Regions from separate parts of the Homo sapiens genome. Here all the other regions are linked to region 2. The links are contacts of gene promoters, found by promoter capture Hi-C in blood cells and fetal thymus (Javierre and others, 2016). All regions are on one chromosome and are shown on one strand. The core of a region is centred on a gene start or on the middle of the fragment in contact, and the rest is flanking DNA. Distances in the headings are between cores, read along the strand shown.

What was found. The method cuts DNA at HindIII sites, captures the fragments that hold promoters and counts their contacts. A CHiCAGO score of 5 or more calls a contact.
Region 1: a fragment that was not itself captured here is called in contact with the fragment with the promoter of MMP27 in region 2 in 4 of 17 cell types (M0 macrophages, M1 macrophages, M2 macrophages and 1 more); the score reaches 16.5 in M0 macrophages.
Region 3: a fragment that was not itself captured here is called in contact with the fragment with the promoter of MMP27 in region 2 in 3 of 17 cell types (naive CD8 T cells, activated CD4 T cells and non-activated CD4 T cells); the score reaches 6.9 in naive CD8 T cells.

The regions. Positions count from the first base shown.
Region 1 is chr11:102,280,076-102,283,070 of GRCh38, forward strand. LOC105369460 (a long non-coding RNA gene) reads left to right here. Exons shown (of 5, transcript XR_007062863.1): 5 at 1-1,164. Among named protein-coding and RNA genes, the nearest start is that of BIRC3, 36 kb to the right of the region's middle. The HindIII fragment of the contact is 1,863 bases long and covers 570-2,432 here.
Region 2 is chr11:102,704,332-102,707,427 of GRCh38, forward strand. MMP27 (matrix metallopeptidase 27) reads right to left here and starts at 1,438. Exons shown (of 10, transcript NM_022122.3): 1 at 1,282-1,438; 2 at 206-444. The coding sequence starts at 1,383. The HindIII fragment of the contact is 3,149 bases long and covers 1,238-3,096 here.
Region 3 is chr11:102,211,224-102,213,968 of GRCh38, forward strand. The region is part of intron 6 of YAP1 (Yes1 associated transcriptional regulator); the gene reads left to right. Among named protein-coding and RNA genes, the nearest start is that of YAP1-DT, 100 kb to the left of the region's middle. The HindIII fragment of the contact is 2,317 bases long and covers 138-2,454 here.

The DNA.
Region 1 (2,995 bases), core at 251-2,750, 420 kb before region 2:
ACAGTATACCAAGCTATCATTTCTTGGCAGGTCGAATAGTCATGTGTATATTTTATGTTCCTTATAAAAGTTAGGCGATATAAATATTGGTGATATGAAAGTTGATATTTTACATAAATTGTCAATTGCTAGTCAAACACGTCAAGGTTTTTTCTTTATGTGGTGGGGCTTTAAAATCTCAGCAGGGAGTTCTTTGAGTTTGAAGTGTCTCCCCTAAGCTTTCCATTTCAGACACTGTTTTTTTCCAAAACAGGTCTCAGTGTGTTGGTGTTTCCAAAGTGCAGATGATTCCTGTTCTTATTTTGTGGCTGTTCTTGCAGAATGCTATCAGCCCCAGATCTAGGGTAGAGGACAGGCTTGATTGGAGCCTTTGCCTGTTACAATGCATGATTCCACCACAGGCCAGCTGTGACCATTCCGCCCAGTGACAGCGTGGTTGTCTTTCCTCATAGGTGAAGGAGGTGACTTCTTATGGGACATGATTTCTGAAGCAGAAGTTTACCTGAGGTTCCTGGAAGAAATGTTTTCCCCACCTGTTGGCTCCCTGAGTATTAACATGCCAGATGCAAAGCTTCATTCATTCTATTAAAATGCAAATGAGCCCAACAGTGTAGTAAAACAGTTTGCTGCTAGAAGTTATTTACAATATTCTAAGAGTAACGCTCTTATTCACCCTAAGCACAGGTTTTAATAAAAAGTGGAAGGGATCGCAAGGGTATTGAGATCTCAGCAAGAGAAGGAAAGGGAAAAGGTTGTTTAAAAACAACATTAATAGAAGACATACCGTATAGAGAGAAAAACGCAGACTGTGCATGTTCAAGATAACTTTCATTACAATTTTGCCTAAGCCAGGGTGAATGCAAATGTTTCAGTTTTAACAGACTGGATCATTCATTCAAAAAGCATTTATTGAGTGCCTTCTCAAAAAAGAATGATAATTAGATTTTTTAAGTTATAAAGAAAATATAAAACCAAAACTGGAGAAATATACGCCAACATTTTTCCAATGGTTCCGTTGTCAAAGTAGAATTAGAATGTAAGTGCAGAGTTAAATTCCATTGTCTATCAAGAAGTAATTGTAAAGGAGCTATGTCTAAAAATGTATCTTTTCAGTGATTTTTGTTCTGAACAATCTTCTGCCTCAAATACATTTTGGATCTATGATTTGCAACCACTTTTTTTTGGTGGGTCAAGATACCAGCACTGTAACTTTAAGAAGTTCATCATTAGCATGCATTTAAAAAAATGTACCAAGTTAAGAAAAAAATTGAATAAATGTACATCTGTCTAAAGCAGGGGTTAGCAGAGTACAGCCTGCAGGTCAAATCCAGTCTACTGCCTGTTTTGTTTTTGTTTTTGTTTTTGTTTTTGACTAGAATGTTAAGATACATTTTTAAATGGCTGCAAAAAAAAAAAATCAAAAGGATAACATTTCATGACATGTTAAAAATTGTCTTCAATTCAAATTTCAGGGGCTGGGTGTGGTGGCTCACACCTGTAATCCCAGTACTTTGGGAGGCCGAGGTGTGTGGATCACCTGAGGTCAGAAGTTCAAGACCAGCCTGGCCAACATGGCAAAATCCCGTCTCCACTAAAAATACAGAAAATTAGCAAGGCCGTGTGCAGTGGCTCACGCCTATAATCCCAGCACTTTGGGAGGCCAAGGAGGGTGGATCATGAGGTCAGGAGTTCGAGACTAGCCTGGCCAACATAGTGAAACTACATCTCTGATACAAACACAAAAATTAGCTGGGCATGATGGCTCACGCCTGTAGTCCCAGCTACTCAGGAGGCTGAGGCAGGAGAATTGCTTGAACCTGGGAGGTGGAAGTTGTGGTTAGCCGAGATCGCACCACTGCACTCCAGACTGGACAACAGAGCAAGACTCCATCTCAAAAACAAAACAAAACAAAAACAATAAAAACAAATCAACAAATCCTGAAACCCTTCTTCCTAGCATTCCCTATCTACATTTTCTGCATTATTTAGCTTTATAGTATTTATCATTAACACAGCCTACATTTTACATATTTTTAAAAAATTGTATATCATTCCTTATTAGAATATTAATTAAATCCCAGGGATTTTTGTCTTTGTTTACTGTTGTATGCTGGAACCTAGAAGAGCATATGACTCCTATATATTGTAGTCGGTACTTGTTTGTTGTGTGTGTTAGTGGCTGAGCCAGGGCTTGTTGCAGACCTGCTTCCATGGTCAGGGAAGCTGGCAAGGTAATGGAATGAATGTGAGACTTTAACATCATATGTGTTTGGGTTCAGATTCTAATCCCAGCCTTTAGTAACTGTTGCAATTTGGAGTAGATTTCACCCAGATATCGGTGATATAAACAAGGAAAATGTTTATTCTTATTATTCTTTTGTGATAAAGAGGTCCAGCATTGATAGAGCAACTCCACAGTCATCAGGGACCCAAGCTTGTTCCACACCCCTTAGTATATGGTTTCCAATGGCCAGGCATGGTGGCTCACGCCTGTAATCCCAGCAGTGGGAGGCTGAGGCTAGAGGATTGCTTGAGCCTGGGAGTTCAGGACCAGCCTGGACAACATAGCAAGACCCCATCTCTACAAAATTAAAAAGAAAATTAGGCCGGGCACATTGGCTCACACCTGTAATCCCAGCACTTTGGGAGGCTGAGGCAGGTGGATCACCTGAGGTCAGGAGTTCGAGACCAGCCTGGCCAACATGGTGAAAACCTGTCTCTACTGAAAATATGAAAAATTAGCTGGGCTTGGTGACGGGCACCTGTAATCCCAGCTACTTGGGAGGCTGAGGCAGAATAACCGTTTGAACCTGGGAGGCGGAGGTTGCAGTGAGCCGAGATCGCGCCATTGCTCAAGAGTGAAACTCCGTCTCAAAAAAAAAAAAAAGAAAAAAAGTAGCCAGTAGTGATGACGCAAGCCTGTAGTCCTAGGTACTCGGAAGGCTCAGGTGGGGGATTGCCTGAGCCCAGGTGGTCAAAGCTGCAGTGAGCTGTG
Region 2 (3,096 bases), core at 188-2,687:
TTTTGTTTCAGTTTCTCTGTATTTAAGATGGTGGTAGCAGCAGAGCCTACAGCACAGGTTTGTTGGGAAGATACCGTAAATGGAGCCTAAGATGTGCTGTGCACACAGGAAGTGCTCAGTCAATTGAATGAATATTATTCTGTTCCTTGGAAATTATCTTTATGTTCCTTTGGATTAGGCGGAAATAAGCTGGCAGAAGCATTACCTGTAGGTGAGGTTGTATTTTCTCCACCCAGGGAGGGTGTAGCCATACTGGCCCACATCAGGCACCCCACACCTGGGTGTCTTCATGATCTCAAGGGTGTTTGAGTCCAGTTTTCCAGTCACTGTCAATCCAAAAAATGCTTGCATTTCCCGAATTTTGTCATCTATGAGACTCCTATTCTTGCTTTGAACAAGATGATTCCCTTCTATTTCAAGAGAGTAGAACTGGTTGAGATATGCCTGACCAAAAAGATAAGAAAAAAAAAAAAGAGGCACAGACTACAGGAGAGCAAATCTCCATCTCAGGATAAAGCAAAATTGCCTAAAATTCCTTCTGGCAATAGGAAAGGGGAAAAAAAAGAAGTAATGAGAGAAAGTGAGGAGTGAAGGAGGAAAGAAGAAAGGAAGGACACAAAGAGGAAAATAACGAGTCACCCTGCTCTTTCAATTTCCAAGACTTGGTTGACTTATGAGTGACCAGAATTAGCCAAAGCACGCAGCTCTTAAACCTCCACAGAAGAGAATGAAGCTTCGTCTGTCTGTTGAATGATGACCTATCTTACATATTTTTGCTGTTACTTTCATTTTGGTGTTTCTTTGAAACAAGTTCTAGGATAAATAAGTGATTATCCATTTTGCACATGTATTTGCTTTAACCAAAAATAAAAAGTTAACTGAACTGATTTTTAGAGGGAATCTGTAAAGCAATGTATTTTTTTTCATACATATAGGGATTAGGGCTCCAAATTGTAGATTGGGTCCTCCTGGTTGTCTTGAAATGCTTTTATAGTGATCTCCATACCTTGCAGGGCTCTCTCCTTTCTCCTCGCACTAAACATCCCTTCATTTGTGACCATTGCTAAAAGTTATAGCAGATCCTTTCCCCCTCCCTGTGCCAGCCCTCCTCCCCAACACAATTTCCTGATATCGTCAGAGATAGACAAATGAAAAGCAGTTCCTTCTCACAAAAAAGTTCAGGACTCTTTTGCAGGAATGTGTTTTCTTTTTAGGTCCCAAGAGAATCAATAAAATAAGCTTTTTATCAATAGTCATCGATATCATTTATTAAGACAGTACCTGAGCCAGTTGCATATTTTCTTCATTTTCCGTCATCCGGACTAAGGGAAATGCAGAAGAAAATGTTATAAAGAACAAAAACAGAAGCAGAAGGCGCTTCATTCCTCTCTTTCTTCAGCTGAAGCCGGTTCTGTTAGCACAGAATTTAGAAAATAATAGTGAGACGTGGCATGAATTGGCTTGTATCATCATTTAATTAATAACAGAAAGGGACACTTGCCATAAAGTGTGTCATGATTTGCTTTTTTTTTTTTTTTTTTTTGACTGAGCTGATTTTGTAATCTTGGCCTGCAATTGTTTAGTAAACACAGTTAGTGCTTATTACTGAATTGAATATACTGGGAAGTGAGCCTCCAAGTTATTTTTTTTTCCTTGCAAAGTTTTCTTTTGAAGGCAATCTCAGAATATCTTGGTAGGATGTTATCATAAAAAGACAAATGAATCAGGAGTCAGATTACCCTTATTAACTAAGATAAACTTCAAATGTTTATTGAATTCCTACTGTTTGCCTGCCCCTGTGAATGCAATCTTGTTGGAGAATTCAGACACATACAGAAATTAATGTAGGACAAAAAGGAGGCAAGTGGGCAAATACACAGTGCAGATTGTAAAGACTAAGAAGGGCCAAAGGCAGATCATTGCTTATGAGTGTGGCCTTGAGGTTTTATGCAAGTTAAATACAGCCTGCACTGGGGCTTGCACTAGGGCTTGCTCTGGGTTTTGGAGAATGTGTAGAATTTGGATTTACAGAGGAAGGAAGAAGAAGTATGAGTGCAAAGAGGCCATGGGAAGGAGGTAACACAGCAGAAATAAGCTGCAGGAAATCTGGCCTGACTGGAACAAAATACATATGTAGACAGCTATGGAAGATGGGATGGAGGGTCTCATGGACAAGACAGCTGACTGGGAAGATGAAGAGTCATAGAGGTCATGGATGATGAAGGCCAAAATTAACATCAGAAGTGAGAATATAGTTAGTGAGAGCCTTTTGGATTAATTTCAATATATTCTTCTTTACTTGGGCTACTTTTAGATGAAGGAACAGTCTTAGTTACAGCAATGTCCTCCCTCACTTGTCCTCCCCTTTTCTTCTACCAATTATTAAAATTTTCTTCCCTTTCTTCCCAAATGTTAACTCCTCAATCGATACACCTTTCTAAATCTTCCTTGTCCATATCCTAAACAAAATTTATATGGCATAGCTGAGGAACTTATAGGATCTAAGTAGATACATACTTCCTTTGCATTTAAAGCTCATCCCAGTTATAAATCTTGTTTCAGAAATATTATTATTTACTGTTTTAATATATGTATATAGTTTAAATTGTTTAATTGGCCTCTGGAGCAATGGGATGAAGGGGAGAAGGCAGACATGATCAGGATTTGTGTTATAATGGTATTAAGTACAAGTATGCTAAGTACAAGTATGCTCATTGTATTGTTCTTTTGTGTTTTTTAAACTCTAAAATATTTCAGAACAAAATTTAAAAAAAAATAGAGTTACCAGAAAAAGGGAAGTCAAATGGTGCTATCTTGTTGTAACGAAAAAGCATCTCTCTGCCCTAACCTTTCGCTCCTTCAAGTCCTGCTCCCCAAAGGTAACTTCTTTAAATTATTTTTATAGCTTTTTATCTTTATGTTTAACTCCACATTTGTAAATAACGTGCTTATGCTACTATTTCTCGAGTTTTCAAAGTTAAATGTTATTATTAACATCTTCCTATGGAAAAGAAGGACTTAACACTCCTTCTGCTTTCCTAATTTGGTTATAGGAATGTTTAAGCCCGTAATCAGCGTTCATACAATTATGACCAT
Region 3 (2,745 bases), core at 46-2,545, 490 kb before region 2:
AATAAGTCAAATTCTTCTTGATCTTTGTTTCATACTTGAATAGAAAAGTAAATCTTTACTGTTATTAAAATTATCAGGAATTCTTAGATTTTTTAAAATAGTAAAGTTTTAGAAAAGGTGAGGCTTATTAGTAGTAAAGCTTCTAAGATACGAAGATTAGAGGTAATTACTCAGATTTGCCCAGACCAGAGCAAAAAACTTGAAAGAGGTTTTTAAAAATCTTCTTTGCATATGCTGGAGATTAAAATATTGGTTTGTTATATATGCTTTAGTTGTCAGTGTTTAATATTTACCTGGCATAATTGTGGAAAGTTATCAGTAAATGTATGAAATTCAAGTATAGGGTTATATTTGAAATAGATCAAGAAATCTGGTGGTATTTGTATCAAGAAAGCATGTGTATATTTTTCTCATCCTATTATTTTCTAAATAACCTTAAGGTAGATGTCAGGAAATAGATCACAAAGAAGAGTCATGTCTTTTCTTCTTTTTTTTTTTGAGATGGAGTCTTGCTCTGTCACCCAGGCTGGAGTGCAGTGGCGCAATCTCAGCTCACTGCAACCTCCACCTCCCAGGTTCAAGCAATTCTCCTGCCTCAGCCTCCTGAGTGGCTGTGATTACAGGTGCCTGCCACTACGCCCAGCTAATTTTTTGTGTTTTTAGTAGAGACGGGGTTTCACCATGTTATCCAGGATGGTCTCCACCTCCTGACCTCATGATTCGCCTGCCTCGGCCTCCCAAAGCACTGGTATTACAGGCGTGAGCCACCGCGCCCAGCCAGAAGAGTCATATCTTAAGTGAAGATGGCTTTAAATAGTGTTTCTCAGAATAATCAAGAAAGCTAGAAAGGACTTTTCAGCCCCAAAGAACAGAGGGTATAAAGACATCACTCAGTATCTGAACACTAGACGCTGTTGTAAAGTTACTGGGTTTTTAACTTATACTTTGTAATAGATATTAATGCAGCTGAGTTAGCAAGCAATAGTGAGATCAGTGTCATTTTCTAATCGTATACCTCATATGCTGTGGGATGTGGAAAGCCACTAAACTTCAAAATGCTTATGAATTACTACAGAAGCTGTCTTTAAGTACTTCCTATAGGATTTAACATATCATGTGGCTGTTGTAGGGTGCTGTGCTCGTGTACACTAACGTCAGTATGGGTGAGGTTAATGAAAAATTCCAAGATCCATGGCCCAAGTGATATTGAAATGTAAAATTTTGAAAAAACTTTAAAGGCATTTATATATCTTCTTAGTTAAATATGGAAATTATCACCTTAATTTATTATACTATGTTGGCAGGATTTTGGAAAAATTCATCCTTACAGAGCTTAACTTTTTATTTTTATTTTTATTTTTATTTTTATTTTTATTTTGAGACGGAGTTTTGCCCTTGTCGCCCAGGTTGGAGTGCAATGGCATGATCTCTGCTCACCGCAACCTCTGCCTCCCGGGTTCAAATGATTCTGCCTCAGCCTCCCAAGTAGCTGGGATTACAGGCATTCGCCACCATGCCCGGCTAATTTTGTGTTTTTGGTAGAGACAGGGTTTCTCCATGTTGGTCAGCCTGGTCTTGAACTCCCAACCTCAGGTGATCTGCCCACCTCGTCCTCCCAAAGTTCTGGGATTACAGGCATGAGCCACCACACCCTGCCAAAGAGCTTAACATTTTAATTTCATTTTGGTTACTTATGATTTTTATGTTTCAAAAGCAATTTCCATTCTCAGAAGAAACTTTCTGAAACTGTAAACATCTTTGCTTTGTGAGATTGAGCAGTTAATGCTATTTTCTAGTCATATCTCTGTTACACATCAGTGCTCACTTGTAAATTGGAGAGACCTTTTGAGCAAGTGGGTTTAGGAATGCACTCTAGCTTCTGTTTTAAGGTCTTTTGAGAGAAGAACTTTGAGGAAAGATAGTCCCCCCTGAGGTGCGAACACTTCTACCTTCTCTTGTGCTTAAGAATATGGTTCTTGGACTGGGGGCGGTGGCTCACGCTTGTAATCCCAGCACTTTGGGAGGCCAAGGCGGGTGGATCACCTGAAGTCAGGAGTTTGAGACCAGCCTGGTCAACATGGTGAAACCCGTCTCTACTAAAAATACGGAAATTAGCTGGATGTGGTGGGGCGGGCGCCTTTAATCCCAGCTGCTCAGGAGGCTGAGGAGGGAGAATCGCCTGAACCTGGGAGGCAGAGGTTGCAGTGAGCCAAGATCGTGGCATTGCACTCCAGCCTGGCGAAAAGAGCAAAACTCCGTCTTGAAAAAAAGAAAAAGAATTTGGTTCTTAATATCTGGGGTTCCCTAGTACCTATGAGATCGAGTTTAAACTCTGCAACTGGCTCATGGTCTGTGGTCAGTAGCCTTTTCACTCACTGGTTCCAGTTAAGCCAGTAACTCTTCCATTATTAGCTAAGTGTACTCCACTGCCTTGTTGCTGTTATTCTGCTCACAAGCTTTTCCCCATAGTGAGAACCTTGCTTATCCCCTTTCTTACCAGTAAAGATTCTTCATTTCTGTTTTAAGGCTTAGGGTGAGATTCATTCCCAAGTGCCCTTATGAGAATTCTTGAGGCAGGGCACAGTGGCTCACGCCTGTAATCCCAGCACTTTGAGAGGCCGAGGCAGGCAAATGACCTGAGGTCAGAAGTCCGAGACCTGCCTGGCCAATATGGTGAAAGTCCATCTCTACTAAAAACGGAAAAATTAGCTGGGCTTGGTGGCATGCACCTGTAGTCCCAGCTAC